Regions from separate parts of the Homo sapiens genome. Here region 2 is linked to region 1. Evidence: promoter capture Hi-C in human tissues and cell types (Jung and others, 2019). All regions are on one chromosome and are shown on one strand. Each heading gives the region's core, a stretch centred on a gene start or on the middle of the fragment in contact. The rest is flanking DNA. Distances are from core to core; before and after follow the strand shown.

Region 1 (4,850 bases), core at 1,659-4,158:
TGTTTTTGTTTTTGGTTTTTTTTGAGACAGGGTCCCACTCTGTCACCCTGGCTGGAACGCAGTGGCGCGATCACAGCTCATTTGTAGCATTAACCTCCCGGGCAGCTCATTTATAGCATCAACCTCCCGGGCTCAAGCAATCCTCCTACCTCTTCCTCCTAAGTAGCTGGGAACAACATGAAAGTTTTGACAGTCAAAGACTTCACTTGCCTGAGGCATTATGGGTCAGAGAAGAGTTGGCATAAATTTCCACTTGAATGAGTAGATGTGCTGAACAGGATGAATTATGAGATGCTGAAACCAGAAGGGTCTGGAGGATACAGGGGGACTCTGAGAAGGAATCTGTCTCATTGGAGGAACACCAGTCCAGACCTCTCTTCCACCTCACTGTCACTTCCAACACCTTCTGAAAGGAAAACATTGCTGTATTTTTAAAGTGACTCAAAACAGGGTCTATAAGAATACATAATGGAAAACACAATAAAAGTACACATCAGCCTCCGTTCATTTTATAAAAGGGAAATGTATACAGAGATGACACAGTTATCTTCAGTTCCCCCCCATAAACCTATGGTAACATGCAAGCCCTGATTCTTCTTCCTTAACATAAAAGCAAACAACTTCGGGATACTTAGAGAAAGCTAAACACAGATCTGATAAATAAACTCAGTTTATTGTACACCTTTTTAGTTTCTTTATCATCCTATCAGTGGAAGAGTAAATACACAAAAAAAGTCAATGAAAACAATCCTCAGTTTATCCCAGAATGACTTTAGACATGTACATGTTCACTCCTGGGGTACAAGCAGAGCTTGTCTTTCCTGTCCTTTTCTCTCCAGAATTGATGTTGCATATACTAGGTATCCAATAAACACTTATTAAATAGAAGATGCTTAATCTCTCCAGGTTTGAGTATCCTTACACATAAGCTCAGAGTTGGGCAAGATCAGTGGTTATGAAGCTTTTTTTTTTGAGACGGAGTCTCGCTCATCACCCAAGCTGGAGTGCAGTGGCGTGATCTCGGCTCACTGCAATCTCTGCCTCCCGGGTTCAAGTGATTCTCCTGCCTCAGCCTCCAAAGTAGCTGAGATTACAGGCACCCGCCATCACGCCCAGCTAATTTTTGTATTTTTAGTAGAGATGGGTTTCACCATGTTGGCCAGACTGGTCTTGAACTCCTGACCTCAGATGATCCGCCCTCCTCGGCCTCCCAAAGTGCTAGGATTACAGGCGTGAGCCACCGCGCCTGACCAGCTTTTTCTTTTTTTTTAAGAGACAGGGTCTTGCTCTGTTGCCCAGGCTGGATGAAGTGCAGTGGTGCGATCATAGCTCTCTGCAGCCCTGAACTCCTGGGCTCAAATAATCCTCTTGCCTCAGCTACCCCACCCCCCTCCAAGTATCTGGGACTGTAGGTGTACGCCACCCACCTAATTTTTTTTTTAATTGTTTTGTAGAGACGAGGTCTCGCTATGTTACAGGCTGGTCTGGAACTCCTGGGCTCAAGCAATCCTCCCGCCTCAATCTCCCAAAGCGCTATGAGTACAGGCGTGAGCCACGATGCCTGGCATAAAGCTTTTTTGAATCACTGACCCATTTGATGATCTAAAGGAAACTGGTGACCCTCTCATCAGAAAAATGCACATACACACAGAACTTTACATACAATTTCATAGAGTTCACAGACCCACTGAAATACATCCAAGGACTCCTAACCCCAGGGTAAGGAACCCGTGGGCTGGATAAGTGTCTACCAGATCCAACAGCCCACAATTTCATGATTGTTGAGAGCATGGAGAAAGCCATGCCTTGTTAAATAAAGAGAGCACTGCAGAAACCCTAGCTGGGGGCCTCTTCACAGGCTACAGAGAAGGTTTACTTCTGGCCTTACCGCACCGGGGATCACAGTCACGCTCCAGTCTTCCGTCTCATTGTTCAGCACTCCACACGTCGGAATTGGCAATATTCCTAAAGAAAGAAGACCAGCATGCAAAGGCAGCAAGGTCCAGCAGCTCAGGGGGTGCATTGAGTCAGACTGCCTAGGATGGACTCACATTACAGCCTAAGATTGGGCCCTTTACAAGCTGCTTGACACTGGGACAGTGACAACCTCTCTGAACTTGTTTCTTCCTTGGTCAAAGGGGATGAAAAGATATTACTGTTCTTACTAGGAAAATGGGATGATGCACGATGTTAGCTCAATGAATGCTAACCATTATTATTTCAGGCTTTCTTCGAACCTGTCCGTCTGTCCTCTTTGGCCTACAGCAGCCGCCCGATCCTTTTCTCCCCATGCGACTTTGCAGAGAACAGAGGCAGGGGGCCCCAAGGATGCCACCTCTCCAGGCTCCTTGGGAGGTCTGGATCCAGTCCAACCCCCACCCTCCCCAAAAGAGGGCCGGACTTTACCCGCCTCGTCCTGCAGCACTGCCAGGGACACGGTCACACCCTCGGTGTCTCCGACCAGGGACGCGCTGACCGCAGGGCCGGACATTCGGATAAAAGGAGGGATGAAAGCTAGGCGGGAAGGAAAGGGGACAAGGAGGGGTTAGCAGTGGAAGAATCACCGCCTAAGGTGTGTGTGGCGGCTTGCTTTGGCGTTGTCGACTCCCGAAGCTCCCGGGGGAGTCCAAGTCTGGCCCTTTTAACGCCCAGTCCCCTCAGCCCCGGCCCACCGAGGTCACTGCCGCGCCGTACACACCCAGGTCCCCCCACAGAAGCCTCAGGATGCCCTGCAGAAGGAAAAGCCTCAAAAGAAGAGCGGCCGGAGGCTGGAAGCCCATGCCTTAGACCTCGCGGGCCGGGCACAGCAGAACCGCGCCCTCATTAGAACCCAGGAAGGACTCAGACACGAAAACGCAGCAGCCACTGCCCCGCCGCCGCCATCTTGCAAGCGAACGCCCGGAGCTATGGCAACCACCAATCGGCGGCCGGCCAGGAGGAACGCCGCGCTGTGATTGGACCAGTGGCAAGAGCGGGCACCCCGGCCCCGCCCACAAGGCCTAGCATTTTTGCTGCTTGACTCTGGTGGGGAGAGTGAGGGCTGAAAAACTACCTATCCGGTGCTCCACTTAGTACCTGGGTGACGAAACAATCTGTGCACCCAACCCCCGTGACACGCAATTTACCTATATAGCAACCTGTACATGGACCCCTGGGCCTAAAAGTTGAAAACATCAAAATTAAAAAGGTCCTGAAAAGCAGGAGTGCGTGTCCGGCTCAAAAACTGGAGTTTTCCCCTACCCTGGAATTAATCCAACAATAGCCAAGAGCGATCCTATAGACACTGGCTTCTAAATAAAAAGGGTGGGACTTGCTCCTTAATAAACTTGATTTTTATACGGATTTGTTTTAGGGGTGAGTAGAAAAAGGGGATGGGGCTGCCGCGCTGTGTTTATTATCTTTACTATCGTTTATGATGTATTATTTATATTTTATATTTTTATAAAATAAATATATATTTACAAAATAGATATACTTTGTTTTATATATATATATCAGATATACATACTTGATATATATAAAATACATATAGGCCGGGTCTGGCGGCTCATGCCTGTAATCCCAGCAATTTGGGAGGCCGAGGCGGGCGGATCACAATGTCAGGAGTCTGAGACCAGCCTGATCAACATGGTGAAACCCCGTCTCTACTAAAAATACAAAAAATTAGCCAGGCGTGGTGGCAGGCGCCTATTATCCCAGCTACTCAGGAGGCTGAGGCAGGAGAATTGTATGAATCTGGGAGGCGGAGGTTGCAGTGAGCCGCGATTGCACCACTGCACTCAAACCTGGGCGACAGAGCCAGACTCCGTCTCAAAAATATATTTATTTATTTATTTATCTTATAAAATATATATGTATTTATATTTTATCTTATATATATTTATCTTTTATATAAGTATATATTTTGTAAATTTTATACTTATATGTTATAATTTTATAAAATTTATATTTTTATAATTCTTATCATTATCATTTATTATCACTATTGCTTTTATTATCATTCTCCTAGGTTTTTGAAGGATTTTCTCCCCTGCACAGAGCTCTCAGCACTCTGAAAGCAGATCCAATCACAGAACACACAAGAGGTTTTGCCCAGCAATAGGACAGATGTGAAAGAATCAAAATTCTGTCTGGAAAAAAATTGTTTTTTCTTATATCAGTAGCCTCAGAACATTTCAAATATTGTCACGGCTTGGGGACTGAGAGTGCAGGGTCTGAGGTCAGGCTGCCTGGCATGGGATTTCGCCTTCCCTCCACAGATATTCTCAGCTGTTAAGTGACTTTGGGCAAGTCAACCTCTCTAAGTTTCAGCTTCCTCATCTATAAAAAAGGGATGATAATAATCCTTCCTTGGGGATTGTGTGAGGATGAAATGAGGTAACATATCTAATGAGGTTAAACCAATGGCTGGCATACAGTAAGCACTCAGTTAATGATCAGTTACTTGTTAACTATCAGAGAGGTGGTGTATCCTTTAGCTGAGACAATCATGGTGTTCAGCATTGTGGCTGACTGACGGTAAATGCCAAGTAAATGTTTGCCATTATTAGTCTTTTTTTTTTTTCTTTTTGAGACAGGGTCTCACTCTGTCACCCAGGCTGGAATGGTGCAGTGGCACAATCATAGCTCACTGCATCCTCAAACTTCTGGGCTCAGCTGATCCTCCCACCTCAGCCTCCCAAGTAACTGGCAATACACCACCACACCCGGCTAATTTTTGTATTTTTTATAGAGACGGGGTTTCACCATGTGGCCCAGGCTGGTCTCAAACTCCTGGGCTCAAGTGATCCTCCTGCCTTGGCCTCTAAAAGTGCTGGGATTACAGGTATGGGCCACCGTACCCAGCCCCA
Region 2 (4,850 bases), core at 2,296-4,795, 260 kb before region 1:
GGAGGTGGCTGGTGTTTGCTGAAGGACTGGGTGAGGGCAGGCACCCAGGGACAGCAAAAGGAGGCAGAGGCCCGAAGTGTTAGGGCAGGGGCAGGGAGGGACCAAGGGTAAGAGCCACAGAGGCGAGACAGCTCACTCTCTGAGCAGGAAGTGGGAAAGAGTCTGTGTGTGTGTGTGTGTGAGAGAGACGGGGGTAGGGGGGTGAGAGAGGCGGCCAGCGGCAGAGCAAAGGTGACAGCCCCACACCTCTTCTCCTCTAAACATCAGAATTTTAATTCAATAGACATGGATAATTCTTTTTACATTTGAGTTTCAAAACAGTACTTTGAATGTAGCAGGCATTCCATAAATGCCATCTGAGCAGACAGAGGGATTTGCGGCCAGTTGAATCCTAAGTGTTTGCTGAGGTCTGATACTCTGCAATTGCCTGTTTTAAGTTCAGCATCTTTAAGGTTCAGAGACATTCTTTTATGCAGTAGGCCAGAGAACTAAGAGCCGGAAAGGGCCTCTGAGATGCCCCGATCTCCCCACCTCGGGGAGGGGAGGGGTCTTTCCAGAGCCCCCACAGCCCTGCCTTCTGCATGGCCCCCACAGCCTAGACAGGGCCCCCACCAGACAGGTCCGCCTGCCCCATAGGCCTCACCACTCGGCCTCAGTCTAATGAGTTCTTCACCTGCTTCCTCGGCTTATTCTTGTAGGAGACGGGACTTCTAAAAGCAGTGAATTAAAGAAAAGATGTGAAGAGCTGGAAGCCCAACTGAAAGTGAAAGAGAACGAAAATGCTGAGTTGTTGAAAGAACTGGAGCAGAAAAACGCGATGATCACAGTGCTGGAGAACACCATCAAGGAGCGAGAGAAGAAGTACCTGGAGGAGCTGAAGGCCAAGAGTCACAAGCTGACCCTGCTGTCTAGCGAGCTGGAGCAGCGGGCCAGCACCATCGCCTACCTGACCTCCCAGCTGCACGCCGCCAAGAAGAAGCTCATGAGCTCCAGCGGGACCTCAGATGCCAGCCCGTCAGGGAGCCCCGTGCTGGCCAGCTACAAGCCAGCGCCCCCCAAAGACAAGCTACCCGAAACGCCTCGCCGCCGCATGAAAAAGAGCCTCTCAGCCCCCTTGCACCCGGAATTTGAAGAGGTCTACAGATTCGGGGCAGAGAGCAGGAAACTCCTTTTGCGGGAACCAGTGGATGCTATGCCCGACCCCACCCCATTTCTGCTGGCTAGGGAGTCCGCCGAGGTCCACCTCATCAAAGAGAGGCCCCTCGTCATCCCCCCCATCGCCTCCGACCGAAGCGGCGAGCAGCACAGCCCGGCCCGCGAAAAGCCGCACAAGGCCCACGTCGGGGTGGCACATCGGATCCACCACGCCACCCCGCCGCAGGCCCAGCCCGAGGTGAAGACCCTGGCGGTCGACCAGGTGAACGGAGGCAAGGTGGTGAGGAAGCACTCAGGGACGGACAGAACTGTGTGAAGCCCGCCGTGCCCCACCCCGCGCTGTCCATGCACTGTGAGCACCACTGGGAAATCTCAGCCACACCTTTTCTGTTTAATCCCATGCATGCCAAACACTTTTCACACCTACCGACCCATTCTCCTTCTGCTTCTCTTGCCCTCTTCTTCACACCAAAATATGATCGTGTCCCTGCCGCAGAATATGTATTTCCTAATTGCTGTGGCCAAACGCCTGTGTGCCGAATCGCTTGCTTCTGATCCCGCTCCGTGTAACCTAAGTGCGCTGCAGGCAAAGCCCAGGCCACGGCTGCGTCACTACTGATGTTCACGATGCCACACAGTCACACACCTAATTCATTCTCAAGTCGGAGCAACACATACCAACCTTGACCTTATCCTCAAGCTCCAGGGCAGCCTGGCCGAGCAGCCCCTGCTCCCTCCTGGAGACCCTTGTCACCTCCCGAGCTCCTCCTGGAGACCCCTGTCACCTCCTGACCAACCTTTCCCAGGGCGGCACCGATCACCGAGCAGCCGTGCGTGTATCTCAAGGAACTAAATAAGATGACGCTACTCCTCATAGCACCACAACCTGAATGTGTGTTCATATTTTTTTGTTAGTTTTATCCAAAATGTTTAAGATCCCAACAAACTTTATTTTCTAAACCTGCCTTCCTTCTGTTTTGTGTCTTTTATTAAACAAACACCTGAAGGAGGGCTAGGAGACTGCAGGAGGGAGAGCAATCACAGGTCCCAGAAGCGACTCCGGCCTCCTCCCGGCCCAGAGCTAGTCCTTAGAATGTGCTGCGCTCCTGAGCTTCTGTGGGAAGCTGCTTTTGCCTCTGATGGCCCCTGCCCACTGTGCTGCCCGTGCTAGCCCCTCTCCTCCCTCATGGAGTGAAGCCACCCCTCACCTCCAGGTGGCCAGCCAGGGCTCCAGGCCAGCCTCATGGTGCACAGAGGGAAGGGGTGCCCAGTGACCACTGGTCCTGGAGGTTCTGTGTCCTTACCTGACCCCACACAGACCCAGGCAGGCTGGGGGTAGAAGCTCATGCAGGAACTAAACACTAAGCTCAACAACTTCACAGTCGCCGTAGCAGGTCAGAGCCAAAGAAGCTAGGGCCAGAGAGTTCTGGAAGGGGGAGAAGTGGCTCCAGGTGACTGGTCACTTCTGCTCTGTGCCCGACATCATCAGCCCTTCTTGCCAAAAAGGAGCATCTGCTGAAACAGACCTGGATCATCGAAAACACACCTTTGGAAATTACATTAGGATTCTCACTTGTGCCAATGCTATGTATGCCAGGCACTTTTGCCTAATCAAGTGTTTTCTCTGAGAAGGAAAAGAAAACTCCACACATCTTAAAATACTCTCCAATATTTACTTTTTGATTATATAAATTCCTTTTAAAAAGTAGTATTAAAAACAAAACCATTCAGGTTAATTTGTATGGAAAGAGATTTAAGTGGCTGATTTCAAATGAAAAATCAGTGTCAGTCCCCCTCCTGCCTCTTGAGAGGCCCCAAGAAATGACAGCAGACCCGATCACTCTGACAACCCCAGGCTCCGAATTCATTAAGCAGTTTTCTTCACCCAAAGGTTAATCAGAATTCAGGGTGAGGCATACTCCTTGCAGCACCCAGTGAGAAATGTGCCTCGTGGTAAAGAGATCAGCTTCAAAAACCAAGCCGACTCCCATGGCGTTCCTTCTCATGGAGGTGGTGTAGACGGGGGTCCGGAAAGTATTCTGCAAGGGAAAGGCAGGTGAGATGCCCCCACGGAGAGAGGGTGCAGAGGGATAAAGGCAGAGGTGCAGTGTAAGTCTTGACAGGCAGGGGCCCCTGTGCAAGACTGCACCTGAGAACACGCACAAGGCTGGGGCTGCTCAGGGCCACCCTCCGCCAGCTTCACGGGGACCTGGCTTCACACTGACACCCTGGTTAAAAGTGGGTCCTGGCCCAGGCAGAGCAGAAGACATCTGCTGTCCACACCAGCGGGAACCACTTTATGACTCAGGCAATGTCTGCAGCATTTTGCAAGAAGGGAGGGAGTCTCCCCTTGGTTAGTCTAGACCACAGGATCACAGCTTGAGCCTGACACCTCTGGAAGGACCGGCATCCACACACACATACAGCCGCGCCTTTTCCAGGAAGCAGCTATCCGTAGCTTTTATCACGGCTCCAAGACTCTCCCCAGCCCATAAAGCTTAGGCACCCCTGTTTTAAAAAGTAGGACTGTTGGAAACCACCTCAGCCATAACTACAGTCAGAAGAGGAAGGGCCCTGGTGTCAGAGAGGAGGGGCTGGGACCTTCACCTGCAGCTTGAGGCGATGGGCTTCAATGGGGATGATCTTCAGGATCGGCAGGTCCACAACCAGCACCTTGGGTTTGCTCTTGATAAGACATCCTTTTTCTATATCCCAGTCAGCACCTTCCAGGTACAGTCCTGAGACAAAGCATCCTAGGGACACAAGGCAGAGACTGGATACAACTGGAGCATGCACAGCCTGCCACGGAGTGGCTCTATCAGGCGCACACACAGCGACACACAGGCCACTGGCTGGCCTCCTCCCCAGCGCATTGGGGACAGCCCAGGCCCTTCTCCAGCATTTCTGTCCTGCCCACCTTCCCTCTGTGGAGGAGCAGCCCAGACAGGAGACCCTGTGGCCCTGCCCCATGGCCCAGAGAAATGGGTGTGGGGCGGTGGCCTCTCCCCCAGGAATCCTCATTCCTGGGGCATCAAGGCCCACGGACTTAGACCACCCTGGGCCCCCAGGCTAGAAAGATGCATGGTCCCAGAGTCAGAATGGGCACCATGGCAACCCCAGCTACCCTGTGAGCCGAAGTGGCTGGGGAGCAGGAAGTCGAAGCCTCACAGAGAAAGTGGTCTCCGGGGAGGAGGACCCAGCAGATGTGCAAAGAGAGGAACACACTCCTGTGGCCCCAGAGAGAGTGGTGGCCCGGACACCTGCCACCTCCCCTGCCACTGAGACCTGGAGAGTCCCTGCATCTTTACCGTAAGTCCCCAGTCCTTAAGCCATCTCAAAAGAGCTTTTGTTCCTTGCAGTTAAAAGAACTCTAAGACAACATGGACCCGGGGAAACAGCAGTTTCCAGCTCTCATTTGCACAGTCAGTAACCAATGTCTAAGGGACCTGAAGTTCTGGCATAATCAAAGAGTTCCAACCAAGTTAGTCCATGCTGCTCTGTGGCTCCCATGCCCCTGGCCCCGTCAGGGGTTACAAGAAAGCCACCTGATGGTTTTTGCAAGAGCTAATTCTGACCTAGGAGCCCACTTGCCATGAGCTAGCAGAGTGAACATGGTTCAGGTCTCCCCTGCCATAGACCCCAGGTCTCAACGGAGAAAGTGGAAGAGAAACTTCCGTATCCACCCTCAGAGGTGT

The links. The method cuts DNA at HindIII sites, captures the fragments that hold promoters and counts their contacts. A contact is called where the count stands out against the background at its distance.
Region 2: a contact is called between the fragment with the promoter of DNAH10OS here and the fragment with the promoter of TCTN2 in region 1, in 1 of the 25 tissues and cell types used here (mesenchymal stem cells).

The regions. Positions count from the first base shown.
Region 1 is chr12:123,669,171-123,674,020 of GRCh38, reverse strand. TCTN2 (tectonic family member 2) reads right to left here and starts at 2,908. Exons shown (of 18, transcript NM_024809.5): 1 at 2,699-2,908; 2 at 2,407-2,514; 3 at 1,889-1,965; 4 at 211-406. The coding sequence starts at 2,780. The HindIII fragment of the contact is 13,736 bases long and covers 1,268-4,850 here.
Region 2 is chr12:123,933,679-123,938,528 of GRCh38, reverse strand. DNAH10OS (dynein axonemal heavy chain 10 opposite strand) reads left to right here and starts at 3,545. Exons shown (of 2, transcript NR_187476.1): 1 at 3,545-4,464. It overlaps DNAH10 (dynein axonemal heavy chain 10), which reads right to left. Exons shown (of 79, transcript NM_001372106.1): 78 at 3,763-3,908; 79 at 2,815-3,194. The coding sequence ends at 3,048. It overlaps CCDC92 (coiled-coil domain containing 92), which reads left to right. Exons shown (of 5, transcript NM_025140.3): 5 at 699-2,903. The coding sequence ends at 1,471. RefSeq lists an enhancer at 1-480. The HindIII fragment of the contact is 2,982 bases long and covers 1,608-4,589 here.